Regions from separate parts of the Homo sapiens genome. Here regions 1, 2, 4 and 5 are each linked to region 3. Evidence: promoter capture Hi-C in human tissues and cell types (Jung and others, 2019). All regions are on one chromosome and are shown on one strand. Each heading gives the region's core, a stretch centred on a gene start or on the middle of the fragment in contact. The rest is flanking DNA. Distances are from core to core; before and after follow the strand shown.

Region 1 (2,863 bases), core at 11-2,510, 430 kb before region 3:
AAAGGCAGAAGGGAAGGAGGAAAAGATAGGCGCCACCAAACAGCACTGCTCACAAATCAGCCAAGACTGCGTCAGGAGCAAAAGCACCTGACCCCAACCCTAGGTACAGTTCCTGGGTGGTCTCTTACCGAGGTTCATGGGGTGGTCCACTCTGCTCTATCATGTTGAACTCACAGGTTTGACTAGCGAACTGGGCATATTCTAACAGCCCGCTGATGGGGTTCTTCAGCTGGCACTCTGTCAGTTTCTTGTAGGGTGAACACCGTGGCAAGCCATGACTGTAGAAGGAGGGCATCTCCATGATGGCTCGAAACTCACCTGGTGCTGCGCGGATACTATTCAAGTCATCTGGGATGTCATCTGTGGCCCACTGGCCATTTTCAAAGTCAACATACCCTGCTTTTGAGGGGCCATTGTAATGAACAGGTGGTTTCAGTCTTGCTGGTTCTGGTCTGGCCTCTTGCCTGTTTTCTAACTTTATGACAGGTTCCTGCCCATTCTCCACTTTTTCTGTGGTTACCATGTTATTTGAGGCATTTGATGTGGGTATATTACAGGTGAGGAACTCTGCGTTTCTTTTGGTCTCAGGGATTGCAGCTGGAGCGGTTTCAGGAACACTGTTCGTATTTCTCTTGATTTGCATCCTCTCTCGCTTCTTGTCTGTCAAATGCCATATGGGAGGGGTTGTCCCTTGTCTATAGACATCCCCCTGCCTTTCCATGTCAATTAGCACAGCATTTATATCTCGGGCCTTGGTAAGGCCAATATTTTTAGCCAAATTCAGGGCAGAGGAGTCAGACACATTGAAGAGATAGTCGCAGATTTTCTCCTTGATCTCGGCCATGTCTAAAAACTCAAGAGGATCTTCCAAGGCAGATGTGGAGTTGCTGTCTTCAGGTTCCAAACCTGGGTCTGAGTTTGGGGATCCTTGGCTATGACTGTCTGGTCTTACCACTCCGCTGTGCTGGTTCCAAGCCTGAGCTGAGACTGCAATAAAAGGCTCAAGAAGATCTTCTGAGACAGATGTGGAGTTTCTGTCTTCCGGTTCCAAACTCGGGTCTGAGTTTGGGGCTCCTTGGCTATGACCGTCTGGTCTTACCACTCCGCTGTGCTGGTTCCAAGCCTGAGTGGAGACCGCGATTTTCCACAAAGGGGGTGTTCCTGCCTCTTTCTGTAGCTTGCCCTTCTTTGCCAGGGAGTATAAAACTCGATTGATTTCTTTCTTCGGAGTCCCAAGTTTCCCAGACAGATCATGTGCTGTGGTGGCCTTCCCTTCCCCAAGCTCTTCCAGGAACTTTAAGATCCTTTGTTCCTGATCTTGGTAGATACTCAGTTCCTGGAAATGTGAGGAAAGGCAATCAACACCTCTCTGTGGCAGACTCCTGCCACGTGGTGAAGGATGCTGGAACCCTCTCTGGAGCCCCTGACTTCTGAGATGCACGCCCCTGGGGACACCCCTGATGTCCACTTGCCTGCCTCTGGTACTGGAGGCAAGTAGTACTGGAAACCTTGGCCGGAGTCCTGGGAGGGAAGGTGGCAGTGACGGTGTCTGCTTTCCAATCACCGGTGCTTCTGGGAGCTGCCCCTTGAGAAATTCTATTTGCTTAAGCAGGAAACTACTGGGGGAAGATCCTGGCCCAGGCTGCTGGTACCTGAGCTGTCTGTGCTCATAGCCTTGAAATGGATGGGTGTAGTATCCGCTGAGGGAATACCCCTGCAGAATAAGACAGTGGAAAAAGAAAATGAATTAGGGCTGCAGTGGTGAACCTGTGGAGGCCCCTCCCTTTGCTGCCTGTGGAACAGCCCTTGAAGGGCTGAGAAGGCAATTGAGCCATGGGCTTATGACTTGGCTAGGGTGACTTGCCTACCTCCTAAATCCTGCCTAGGGGCCTGCCAACAGGAACACAGAGAGGGGAGCAGGAGGCAAAGCACGCAGAACTTCCAGGAATACAGAGGTTCTGAGGCCTCAGCATAGCCTCTCCAGCAACCTAACTTACTTTTCCCTTTGACAGAATTTAAGGGAGTTGAGAAGGTAATTTTCTAGTTACCAAAACAATTACCCCTTTAAAATCAGAACAACAAATATATGTTATTGTTTTGAAAACAAAAACAGAATAACCTGAAATAACCAGAACAATCACATGAAATAACAATAACCAAGGGAGATGGGACTAGGGAAGGGACGAGATGACCTCTCCTTAAGTCAGGCTCACCAGTGCACCCCTTGCCCACCTGTCTCTAAGATCTATCGTTTAGATGACTATGACAAAAGAAGAAATGTGATTGGATGAAACTGAACCCCAGTCCTCCAAGGCTGTAACAGCGCAGTAACGAAAACAATCTCCAGGTGGGAAAAGGCCACGGGACCTCAGAGTCATCTCTGTGGCTCTTCACTGCCATCCCAGGAGGATCAGAATTTGGTCTTCAGGGAGCTGGAGGGTTTCCTGATAAAAATGGCACACTGTCCTCACTCTTCAGTGTGGTACCCAGGCTCAGAAGGGATGCCAGAGACTTTTGCCCAAACCACCCAGGCTCTCCTGGATGTGTGGAGCTGGCAGCATCTGCTCCTCACCACCTCAGACCAGTCCTACCTTCCCTAGCTACTTCCCCATAGCTGCTTCCACTGCACGTTCTTCTGAACCCTGACGGACAGGGCACAAGCAACCCCATGTTCTCATATGCACATTTACCAGAACACCAAGCACCTGTGACCCCTTTCCCCACCCACCCACCTGCAAACCAGTACTGTCTTCTCCCCAGGGCTGTTCACTGGAGGGTGATGGAGCCAGGAAGTACTTATAAGCCTGGGGGTGTCAGTAAACACCTTGCTTCCTTTCCCTGGGGCTTGTAGACTGGGAGGAGG
Region 2 (2,850 bases), core at 79-2,578, 290 kb before region 3:
TCTGAGGGTGGAACGAAGACATTTTCAGATACGTAAGGTTGTCACGGGTTTGCCTCCCATGCACCCTCTCTCAGGAAGACACAGGAGGTATGCTTCACCAAAACAAAGAAGTAAACCAAGGAGGAAGACAAGGAATAAAGGTAACGAGCTCAGGGTGATGCTACAGGGAGGCCCTCATAGGACAGGTGCTCACCAGGTGCGGAGGACAACCCGTCCGGGCTGGAGCAGGTCAAGAGGCTCTGGGAGACACTTCCAAGGAGATGAAATTGATAGGAAACTTAATGTGCCTGAACATCCTGAAAAGAGGTTTAGACAACTGCCAGAGTTTGCACTTGCATTAATGACGAATACATAGAAAACTAAGCAAACAAACAAACACGATCATTAACAACTCCAGGAAAAATGAAAAGTTCTGCAGGAAGGGAAAAGTTATCATATTTTTTACTACAAGGCTCAACTATGAATAGAGTCAAATTAGTGTTGACTGAGTAATGTAAACACTGATTACTGCTTTAACCAAAATTATGATGTAATTATAAAAGGAAGATGAAGGGAGAGGAAGAGTTGGAGGAGAGGAAAGGGAGCTAAATTTTCATCTCCCAGAGTGGGAAGGGAATAGATAATACCTAAATAAACCAAAGCATCAAAAGGTAGCAATACACACATATTACTTACAGACATGGAGGTAAATACTAAAATTAATTAGCAAAAGAAGGTAAAAGTAGCTGCCTCTGGAGAACAGTAAATGGGAAGAGCTGGTGGAAGACAGCAAATACCACGGAAGGATTGACTCTACAGTGTATGCACATGTAACTTTGATCATATCAACAGAACACCAAACCAAAGAGAAAAAACAAAACTACATGCAACATTAAATGACATCAAGAAACACAGAAAGAAAATAAGCACCATGAACTCACCATCCAGCTCCAACCTGTGGGATCTACTTGTATGTTCTCTCCATTCTTAGTGCCCCCCACCCCAGGATCATCATTACCCTGAATGTCATGTTTATCATTTCCTCGTTTTTCTTCATAGTGCTTCCATGTAGGCAGGATTACCTAAGCAATATGTAATTTCATTTTTCCTATTTCCGACCTTCATAAGGATGAAATCATACCACAAGAGTATGGTAGGAAGCTTCTAAAATGACCTCGATATCCCCCCTCCTCTTGAGGTCTTCACACACTTTTGCAATCCTTTCCTTTTGAGTGTGGGCTGGACCAAGTAACTGGTTTCTAACACATAGAGTATGGCAGAAGTGATAGACTTTCATTTCTGAAGTTAGGTTATGGTAAGATCATGGCTTCTGTCTTGGGTGATCTCTCACTAGTTATCTTTTGGATCACTCTCCCTGGGAGAATCCACAGGCCATGTCGGGAGGCAAGCCCGTGGAGTGCCACATGGCAAGGGACACAGCCTGCCAACCACCACATGAGTAGCTTAGAAGCAGGTGTTCTTTAAGTCAAGCCTTGAGGTGAGACCACAGCCCTGGCTGACAGCCTGACAATCTCATGAGAGAACTTGAGGCAGAGGTACCCATTTAAGCTGCACCTGAATTCCTGACCCACAGCAACCCTGAGATGGTAAATGTCTGCTGTTTTTAGCTGCTAAATTTTGGAGCAAGTTGTTATGTAGCAACAGATAACTAATACAGTGAACTCTTCTATGAATTGCTTCTTTTCTGTTCAACATATATATTATATTGACATATGTAGCTATAGTCTATTTTTATTCCTGTATTGTATTTCATCATATGAATATGGCATGATTTATTTATTCATTCACCTGTTGATGGACAGTGGGATAGCTTACGGGTTTTTCCTCTAATGAGAAATACTGCTACAAACATTATTTTTTATTGACTTATTGTTATTGTATTTTTAGAGACAGGGTCTTACTCTGTTGCCCAGGCTGGACTGCAGTGGCACAATCATAGCTTACTGTAGCCTCAAACTCCTGGGCTCAAGAGATTCTCCTGCCTTGACCTCCTGAAATGTTGGGATTACAGGCATGAGCCACCTCACCCAGCCCAAACATTCTTAATCATAGCTCCTGGTACACTGCATAAGAGTTTCTCTAGGACACATACCTAAGACTGGGTTTGCTGGTTTGTAGGATATGTACATATTTCACTTCATTAGGAAATGTCAAGTTGTTTTCTAAGATGCCAGTGCCAATTAGGCTTCCACCAGAGGTGGATAAGAGTTCCTGTTTCTCCATATCCTCATTAACACTTGCCATTGTCTGACTTTAATCTCTGCCACACTAGTGGGTGAATTGGGATCTCATCAAGACTTGACTTTACGTTTCCATGATAAAAGCTTAAGTAGCCTTTCATATGTTTCTTTGTCATTCATACTTTCTCTTCTGTGGCGTGTCATTCATGACTTTTGTCCACTTTTCTATTGGCTTGTTTTTGTTTTTTCTCATTGATTCTAAAAGTTATTTATATATTCTAGATAATAAGAATTTTGTCAGTTTGTGTGTTGCAAATATCTTCTTCCAGTGTGTGCCTTGCCTTTTTCTCTACAGTATTTTTGATGAATAGAAGTTTTAAATTTTACTGTAGGTGACTTTATCATCCTTTAATTTATAATTAGCAGTTATTTGGTTTTTGCAGAAATCATTCCCTCCCTGAGATTGTAACATTTTTACATATTTTAAAATGTTGCCTTTCTAAGTCTTCAATTTGCCTGGAATTGATTTTGCATATGGTGTGAGGCAGGGATACAACTTCATTTTTTTCACATGGGTAAGCAATTATCTCAGTTTCACTTAATGTGCAGACCATCCTTTCTCCTACTAGCTTTCAATGCTCCCTCTGTCTCATAAATTATATGTGGAAGT
Region 3 (2,880 bases), core at 275-2,774:
GCTGGGATTACAGGTGTGAGCCACCGCACCTGGCCCCCCCGCTTTTTTTTTTCTTTAGAGATGGAGTCTCACACTGTCACCCAGGCTGGATTGGAGTACAGTGGCACGATCATAGCTCACTGCAGCCTCAAACCCCTGGGTTCAAGAGATCCTTCCACCATAGCCTCCCCAGTAGCTGGGACTACAGACATGTGTCATTACATCTGGCTAGTTTTATTTATTTTCTATTTTTTTATTTTTTATAGAGACAGGGTCTCGCCATGTTGCCAAGGCTGGTCTCAAACTCCTGGGCTCAAGTGATTCTCCCACCTCGGCCTCGCAAAGTGCTGGGATTACAGGCATGAGCCACCGCACCCGGCCAGGACTGGGTGCATTTTGAGTCCCCGGGATAGACATGCTAATGTGCTTACCTATGTGTTTCACACCATCCATGATTGACCGAAAGAACTTGCGGACCCGGTCAGCCACCTCTTTGGTCTTCCGGGCAATAGCTTTAATCTTGTTCAGGGCACCTGATGGGTGAGGGACAGAGGCACTTTGGAGTCTTCTCCTCTAGGGGCTGGTTCTCACCATTGCCCCTTAAGCAGGGAGTAGAGAGGAGGCCACCATTTCCAGAGGCGGGAAGCCTGGATTCTGGGGCCTGGGAGATCGTTAATCTGGGAGTGGAGGAGGCCAGAGAGCAAGGAGAGAGGGTTTAGCTGTGCCCAGAGTCCCTTCCAGGCCCAGATGCTCCGCGATTAGCACCAGCAGAGAAGGAGGCCAAAGGACTGTAGAACATGCAGGATGAGGGGGGCGAGGGGGGCCCGTGGGAGACAGTGGTAGAGGTGGGGGACTTACTGACAAGAGGTTGCTTGGCCCTCTGTAGCACTTCGGCGGTCTGGTTCAGGGCCAGCTCTGCCCCACAGGCTACAGCCTCGCTGGCCCGGGTGAAGTTGCGTAGAGTGTTGGCACAAGGCCCTTGAAGCACCAACCCAAAAGCAGCCACCAACAGTAGTGTCCGGCCCTGCCCTGGGGGCGACAGCTTTGTTAGAACCAAGACCCCAGCCCCAAACATGGCAGCAAGTCCCTTACATAAGCCTTCAGAATATTTCCCTTAACCCCTGCCTCTCCTCCAGCATCTCTTCTGCCCCAGCACCAGCCCCAGGACCTGCCCCCTAGCCCTGGGTGCCAAGCTCACTGGAGAAGGCCTGAGGCAGCAGCAGGAGGACAGTGGCTCGGACCTGGCGAGAGAATCCCATGCCCAGGCTAAGGAAGGCAGCCAAAGTGAGGGTGCCCACCAGGCAACCCCAGGGGCTGTGGCCTTCCACCAGTAGCTCCAGAAGCCCGTAGGCCGTGGCTAAAGACAAGCCCAGGGTAAAACCTCCCACGCTGCGAACCACAGCTCTCGCCATGCTAGGCTCCTCTCCCCCCAAGGGGTGCACAACATCCTTCATGACTTTGGGCATGGCTGCTGAGACCAAATGTCTGCCTGTCTCCAGGAGATGCCCGCTGACTTCTGTGCTCCTGGAATTTCTCACCGTATTCTAAGGTTCCAAAGGGCTTTCACTGCATATGTCTTGGAATCCTTGACCCAGTTCCGAGGACTGGAGAGGGGATAGGTAGGTCTCTAATCTCCTTCCCCACTTCTCGGAGCAGAAGGATTAAAAGGCCCAGAGCTCAGGCCTAGGCTTCCCATGAAGCGGAAGAGACAGGCAGCACCTCTCTTCTCTCACCAGAACCTTGTGTCCAAGGAGGTCCTTCAGGAGACCTGGGATGAGTGGTGCTTCCCCAAAACAGACTCATGGACATTAAACATCATCAGAATGGCACAAGAGGGCAAAGAAGAAAACAGCCTCATACCAGTGAGTCACTCAGCAGAGACCCAGTATCCCTTGACCTCCACTCTCATCCCATCTCTCCTCCTGGAACTCCTGCACACTATCCCCCAACTCGGTGTCCGCGCCTCCACCACCTCTCTGGTCTAGTGCCTCCCGCCTCCCAGCCCAGCCCTTGCCTTTGCTGTCCCTTACACCCATACCACTTCCTCAGGCTCCCTCATCCTCCTCCAGGGTCCCCTAAGTTCCTACTGTTTCACATGCCAGGTTTCCCCAGCCTCTATCCACCTGCAAGCCCTGAATCCTAATGAGCCCCATCCCAGGCAGAAGAGTGGGCTGTTGAGCTACCCTGTCCCCCTCTTAGCGGTGCAGAGGCTCCTGACCTGGGGGCTGCCAGTCTCCTGTAGCTGGTTCCTGTGGCGCCAGCCGGGCGAGTTTCCTGTCACTGCTCTCCTGCTGGGGGCAGGCGCTGGGGGGCTCCTGGCCATAGGTGAGTGTGGAAGCAGAAAGTTCGGGGTGGGCAGAGGCTGGACCAGGGCTAGGACCCATCTTTTGGCCTTTGGCTTGACCTTGTGCCCTTAGGTCTCTTTCAGCTCCTGGTGAACCCCATGAACATCTACGAAGAACAGAAGATTATGTTCTTGTACAGCTTGGTGGGTTAGTGCTGGGCAAAAGCCAGGAACACTCAAGCGGCCTGTGGAACACAGCGCCGTCCTGCATGCCCAGGAAGGAGTCGGGACTTGTTTCTTCTGTACCCATACATCCCCTGTGGCTTCCGCCTCCTCCTGGGCTTTACGGGGAGGTCCAGAGGGAAGAGGCTGCCAATTTAAGAAGGAAGACACCGTCCTTGCCCTGAGGGAGTCTCTCCATTCCGAGGGACTCCCCATCACCCACATGATATAGTCCAACCCCATAACCCTTCATAACTCTCATCTCTCCTGACCTGTCTGACCTCGTTTTCTGATCCTCCTAAGAAATTAAATTCATTCATTCATTCATTCATTCACTCAGCACTTACTGAGAATCTGCTGAGGATTTAGCAGTAAACAAGGATGACAAGCATCCA
Region 4 (3,039 bases), core at 81-2,580, 380 kb before region 3:
AGTTGCTTTTTTCTTTCTGCTTTCAAGATTCTCTCTTTGTCTTTCAAAAGTTTGATTACAATGTGTCTCAGAGTGGGTCTCTTTAGTTTATTTTACTTCTTGGGTGTCTATATTCATGTCTTGTATCAAATTTATTATGTGTATATATTTGTGTAACCACCACCAAAATCAAGATAAAGAACAGCTTCATCATTGCAAGGCTCCCTTGTGCTACCCCTTTATAGCCACAACCAGTCCCCCTTCCCCTCATTCCTAATTCTTGACAACAATTAACGTGTTCTCCATCTCTATAATTTTGTTATTTAAGTAATGTTATATAAATGAAATAATACTGTATGTAGCCTTTTGAGATAGGCTTTTTTTTTTCAACTCAGCATAATTCCCATGAGATTCATCTAGATTGTTACACGTATTAATAGCCCATTCCTTTTTATGACTGAATCCTAGTCCATGGTATGGATATACCAGTTTGCTTAACCACTCGCCCATTGAAGTATACTTGGGCTATTTTCAGTTTTGAGATGTTATGAATAAAGTGGCTATAAACATCTGAGCATAGGTTTTGGGTGACTATAACTTTTCATATCTCTGGGATAAATGCCCAAGAATGTAATTGCTGATTTTATTCTTTTTTAGAGAGTACCTTGGATCATCTTGGCTCTTTGCTCTTTCACATATATTTTAGAATTGGCTTGTCAAAATTATGAAAAACACTTTAAAGTTTTGATAGAAATGGCACTGAATCTATGAGACATTTGGGTGAGAATTTAGGATATTGAGACTTTCTAGCCATTGATAATATTTCTCTCTTTTTACTTAATTCTTCTTAATGTATTTCAATAAAGCATCATGATCTTCTTTGTATCAGTACTGCAATTATTCCCAGGTGCCCATACCAGTCAGGAAAGACTGGTTGTGTTATGGCAATAAAACAACCAAAAAAGTTTATTTCTTCCTCATGCTACATGTTCATCATGAGTCAGGGGGCTCTATTCCACATTTTAATTTTTTTCTATCTGTTTTTTCACCTTCTAAAATCCTTAGAATGTTCCACATTTTCATCATTCTTACTTTGAGGCTCAGCCTGAAAGGGAAGCTACTGTAGAACATTGCCAGTTGTGGAGGGAAAAGGGAACTTGGAGAAGCATGCACTGGCTCTTAGGCTTCTGGCTGGGAGTCTGTCACTTCTGCTCACTCTGCATTGGCTAAAGCAAGTCTAAGGCTAGCACTTCTCATATCATGTCTCTCTCTCTCTCTCTCTCTCTCTCTCTGTGTGTGTGTGTGTGTGTGTGTGTGTGCGTTTCTGTCTCTATCTCTCTCCACACGTACACACACCCTCTCCAAGCATCTTGGGAGACCTGAGCCAACACATAAGAAGTCTAGCTACCCTGAAGCCACCATACTAGAGAGATCATGTGTAAAGACCTCACAGAAATAGCGAGAGATGCCTCCAAAACTGAGCTGGCAAGTATTCTCTCTTTTTCTATCGTCCACAAAAACTCCTATAAGATTGGAATGATCTTCTCCTTGAAAATTTCATATAACTCACCTGGAAAATATCAGGGCTTGGTATTTTCTTTGCGGGAACACTTTAAATACTGATTGAATTTCTTTAATTATTATAGAGCTATTCATTCTGCCTTTCTAGTCTTGAATCTGTTTTGGTAAATTATATTTTCTAGGACGTTTTCCATATCATCTAAGTTTTGAATTATTAGCATTGATTTGTTTATACTTTTATGTTTAAATGTTCACTATAACCATAGTTATAGATTTTTATCTCGTTTTCAGTTTTCAGTATTGCTTATCTGTACATGCTGTTTATCTCTGTCTCTTAAATTTTTCCAGAAGTCTTTCAACTTCAAAGAATCAATTTTGGCTTTGTTGATCCTCCGTTTTCAGTTTCATTACTTTCTCTACTTATTGTTATTTTTTTCTTCCTACTACTTTCCTCATGGTTATTCTGCTGTTCTTTTTCTGATTTCCCAAGTTGGAGATTTAGCTCATTATTTTTATTCTCTCTACTTTTTAAATTATAAGCATTTAAAGTTATTAATTTCCAACCTTTTCGGTGTTGAAGTCTTAATTTCGGCAATTTTGTTTTTTATTTCTACAATTTATGTTTGACATTTTTTCATATCAAGGTCATTTTTATAGTCTTGTTCCTCTATCATGTTTTAAAATCTTCTTAAAAACCTGTCAATTCCTCATTTGTTTTACTTCATATGGTCACGTCAATGCTGAAGTCTTTGCGAGTCTGATTTTGCTGTTAATTTCTCTGCTGACTTTCTTTCTTTTTCTTTTTCTTTTTTTTTGAGATGGAGTCTCGCTCTGTCGCCCAGGCTGGAGTGCAGTGGCGCTATCTCAGCTCACTGCAAGCTCCACCTCCCAGGTTCACGCCATTCTCCTGCCTCAGCCTCCCGAGTAGCTGGGACTACAGGCGCCTGCCACCACGCCCGGCTAATTTTGTTTTTGTATTTTTAGTAGAGGCAGGGTTTCACTGTGTTAGCCAGGATGGTCTCGATTTCCTGACCTCGTGATCTGCCCCCCTCGGCCTCCCAAAGTGCTGGGATTACAGGCGTGAGCCACTGCGCCCGGCCTCTCTGCTGACTTTCTCACATGGTGTCTTTTCCTCATATGTATCCTGTAATTTTCATTGTGATCTCATGTTTGTTGGAACTGCACCTGTGAATAATCTTCAAAATTTACATTAAAGGTGTATTCCATTAGAAAGGATTTGTTTTTCCTCTGCTAAGTACATTAGGGACACACCAAACTTGGGACCACTTTACATTCTTGGCTTGGAATTGTTTTGACCAAACAGGTAGCATGAATTTTGGCACCAATGCTTTGTGAAGGACAACTTAATGCTTATGAGTTATTTTGGGGGAGATTTTATTTCATTTTATTCAGAGGTATGTCCTTCTCCTTTATGAGACAGGCTTTTCTTTCTAGTTCATTCTTTCACTGAGAGGATAGCCCTTTGGGGGCCCTGACTTTATGGAAGATTTTACAACCAATTCTCCAGCTTGCAAGGGC
Region 5 (3,237 bases), core at 10-2,509, 340 kb before region 3:
ATTGCTGCATAACAAATTACCACAGGTTTAGTGACTCGAACAACACATATTTATTACCTCAGTTTCCATGGTTCAGGAGCCTGGGTACAGTTTAGTTGGGTTATTTGGTCAGAGTCTCACAAGGATTAGTCAACATTTGGCCAGGCTGCATTCTTGTCTGGAGGTTCAACTAGAGAATATTCTTTTCTCTAAGCTCATTCAAATTGCTGGCAGAATTCATTTCCTGGTGGCTACATGACTGGTGGCCCTGGCTTATTACTGGCTGTTGGTCACTCTCGGCTCCTAGTGGCTGCCCACAGCCCCCTGCCGTAGGCCTTGGCAGTTCACAACAGATCTGTTGCATCAAGGCCAGTAGGAAAATCTCTCCAGTCCATTAACATGGAATCTTATTTGAAAAAAAAAAAAAAAAAAAAAAAAGCATAATCTTGGGAGTGACATCTCATCACCTTTGCCATATTCCTGGCCAGAAGCAATGCTCAGGGTTTGTTTTTTATTTTTAATTTACCAATGTTTAATTAATCTTTTAAAAAATCTATTATTGTTAGATTATTTTTCTTCTTTGGTTCATTGGTAAATTTTATTTTACTTTTCTAAGATTAAAAAAAAACTTGTATTCTTTGGGTCAGATTTAATTCTGGTGTACTCCCCCACCTCCCACACCTATTTCTAGATTTGGTTTGATCACAGCATGTTTAGGATGTTTGAATCAACAGTCTTAAGTAAAACTTGTCTATAATTTTCCTTCCTTGTACTGTCCTCATCAGGTTCTGATATCAATCCTTTGCTAGCCTCATAAAATGACTTGGAAAGTGGTCTTTTTCTTTTCTTTTTTTCTTATGATCTAGGAAAAAAATATGTGAATTGGATTTACTTTGCTATTTAAATGTTTGGTAGAATTTGCCAAAATCATCTAGGCCAGTTTTCTTTGCGACAGAATTTTTATTTTTATTTTTATTTTTAGACGGAGTCTTGCTCTGTCTCCAGGCTGGAGTGCAGGGGCGCGATCTCGGCTCACTGCAACCTCCACCTCCCGGGTTCAAGTGATTCTCCTGCCTCAGCCTCCAGAGTAGTTGGGATTACAGGCACATGCCACCATGCCCGGCTAACTTTTTTTTGTATTTTTAGTCGAGACGGGGTTTCGCCATGTTGGCCAGGATTGTCTTGATCTCTTGACCTCATGATCCACCCACCTCGGCCTCCCAAAGTCTAGGATTACAGGCGTGAGCCACTGCACCCAGCCTCTTTGTGACAAAATTTTGAATCATTCATTCATTCATTTATAGTTTAAAAAATGATACTATGATTATTCCATTTTTCTATTTCTTCTTGAGTCCGTTTTGGTAAGTAATATTTTTCATTTCCAAATATCTTCTTATCTTTTTAGCATTTGTAGCATCATTCCTAATATTGTTTTGTGTTCTCTCTCTCTCCCTTTTCTCCCTTTCTCTGTTTTTCTGTCTCTTGTTTAATCCTGCTAGAGAATTATCAATTTTATTAGTAAATTCAAAGGAAGAACTTTTGACTTTTAAAAAACCTCATCTAGTGTGAGTTTACTTTCTATTAATTGTTTCTGCTCTTGTCTCTATTTGTATATTCTACTTTATTTGGAAATCTCATGTTACTCTTTCTAATTTCTTTCTTCCTTTTCTTTTTTTTTTGAGACGGAGTCTCACACTGTCTCTCAGACTGGAGTGCAATGGTGCGACCTCAGCTCACTGCAAGCTTTGCCTCCCGGGATCACGCCATTCTCCTGCCTCAGCCTCCTGAGTAGCTGGAACTACAGGCACCTGCCACCACGCCTGGCTAATTTTTTTTGTATTTGTAGTAGAGACAGGGTTTCACCGTGTTAGCCAGGATGGTCTTGATCTCCTGACCTCGTGATCCGCCCGCCTTGGTCTCCCAAAGTGCTGGGATTACACGCGTGAGCCACCGCACCCAGCCTAATCTTTCTAATTTCTTAAAATTTCATTCAACTCATTTTGAAACACAGCATTTTCCTTAATGTTCTGTTTTACATATTTAAATTTTTATGATTTATTCTTTGATTCATAAATTATTTATGTTTCTTAACTTCCAAAGGTATTATTTTAGTTACGATTTTTTGCTTACTGAATTTTATTTATGTATTTATTTTTTTCAAGTTCAGCTTCCACCAGGTATGGTGGTTATTTTGCTTTTTTTTTTTGAAACGAAGTATTGCTCTGTTGCCCAGGTTGGAGTGCAGTGGTGCAATCTTGGTTCACTGCAGCCTCTGCCTCCCAGGTTCAAACGATTCTCCTGCCTCAACCTCCCTAGTAGCTGGGATTACAGGTGGGCACCACCACTCCTGGCTAATTTTTGTATTTTTAGTAGACACAGGGTTTCACCATGTTGGCCAGGCTGGTCTCAAACTCCTGACCTTAAGTGATCCACCTGTCTCAACTTCCCAAAGTGCTGGGATTACAGGTGTGAGCCACTGCGCCCGGCCTGAACTTTGGTATATATTACACTGAAGTCAGAGAATTTTGTTTGTATGGTACCATTCCTTTAAAACGTGTTGAACTTGGCCGGCACGGTGGCCCACACCTGTAATCCCAGCACTTTGGAAGTCCGAGGAGGGGGGATCACGAGGTCAGGAGGTTGAGACCATCCTAGCTAACATGGTGAAACCCTGTCTCCACTAAAAAATACAAAAAATTAGCCGGGCGTGGTGGTGGGCGCCTGTAGTCCCAGCTACTCGGGAGGCTGAGGCAAGAATGGCGTGAACCGGTGAGGCGCAGCTTTCAGTGAGCCGAGATCGCGCCACTGCACTCCAGCCTGGGCGACAGAGCAAGACTCTGTCTCAAAAAAAAAAAAATGTGTTGAACTTGCTTTAGTGTCCATTATGTGGTCAAGTTTCATTAATATTCAATGTACAAGGAAAAAGTGTATCCTACAGATTTGATTATGTCATTCAATTTTTCTATATCTTTTTAGATTTTTATTTTGTCTACTTGATCAACTACTTCCTCAGAAAGATGTATTAAATTTTCCTGCTATGGTTGTAGGTTTGTCTGTTTTGTTGTAGTTCTGTAAATGTTTGCTTTATATATTTTAAGGCCATATTATTAAGTGTATTCTATATACTTTAAATTGTTATCTTTTCTTGGAGAACTCAGTGCTTTTTACATTAAAGCCTCCCCCTACCGCCCAGTATTTATTAGCTATACCCATATTTTTTTGATTAAAATATACTTGAATCTTTTAAAAATTCACACT

Evidence for each region. The method cuts DNA at HindIII sites, captures the fragments that hold promoters and counts their contacts. A contact is called where the count stands out against the background at its distance.
Region 1: a contact is called between a fragment that was not itself captured here and the fragment with the promoter of DCST2 in region 3, in 4 of the 25 tissues and cell types used here (hippocampus, lymphoblastoid cells, mesenchymal stem cells and 1 more).
Region 2: a fragment that was not itself captured here is called in contact with the fragment with the promoter of DCST2 in region 3 in 2 of the 25 tissues and cell types used here (dorsolateral prefrontal cortex and spleen).
Region 4: a contact is called between a fragment that was not itself captured here and the fragment with the promoter of DCST2 in region 3, in 1 of the 25 tissues and cell types used here (spleen).
Region 5: a fragment that was not itself captured here is called in contact with the fragment with the promoter of DCST2 in region 3 in 1 of the 25 tissues and cell types used here (dorsolateral prefrontal cortex).

What each region holds. Positions count from the first base shown.
Region 1 is chr1:154,600,913-154,603,775 of GRCh38, forward strand. It overlaps ADAR (adenosine deaminase RNA specific), which reads right to left. Exons shown (of 15, transcript NM_001111.5): 2 at 129-1,714. Among named protein-coding and RNA genes, the nearest start is that of ADAR, 5.8 kb to the right of the region's middle. The HindIII fragment of the contact is 4,304 bases long and covers 1-2,863 here.
Region 2 is chr1:154,738,415-154,741,264 of GRCh38, forward strand. All of the region lies in intron 3 of KCNN3 (potassium calcium-activated channel subfamily N member 3), which reads right to left. Among named protein-coding and RNA genes, the nearest start is that of KCNN3, 130 kb to the right of the region's middle. The HindIII fragment of the contact is 3,387 bases long and covers 1-2,850 here.
Region 3 is chr1:155,032,257-155,035,136 of GRCh38, forward strand. DCST2 (DC-STAMP domain containing 2) reads right to left here and starts at 1,525. Exons shown (of 15, transcript NM_144622.3): 1 at 1,178-1,525; 2 at 838-1,008; 3 at 411-512. The coding sequence starts at 1,445. It overlaps DCST1 (DC-STAMP domain containing 1), which reads left to right and starts at 1,568. Exons shown (of 17, transcript NM_152494.4): 1 at 1,568-1,598; 2 at 1,716-1,841; 3 at 2,179-2,304; 4 at 2,397-2,471. The coding sequence starts at 1,781. The HindIII fragment of the contact is 8,066 bases long and covers 1-2,880 here.
Region 4 is chr1:154,656,565-154,659,603 of GRCh38, forward strand. No RefSeq gene overlaps it. Among named protein-coding and RNA genes, the nearest start is that of ADAR, 50 kb to the left of the region's middle. The HindIII fragment of the contact is 9,513 bases long and covers 1-3,039 here.
Region 5 is chr1:154,689,102-154,692,338 of GRCh38, forward strand. No RefSeq gene overlaps it. Among named protein-coding and RNA genes, the nearest start is that of ADAR, 83 kb to the left of the region's middle. The HindIII fragment of the contact is 3,971 bases long and covers 1-3,237 here.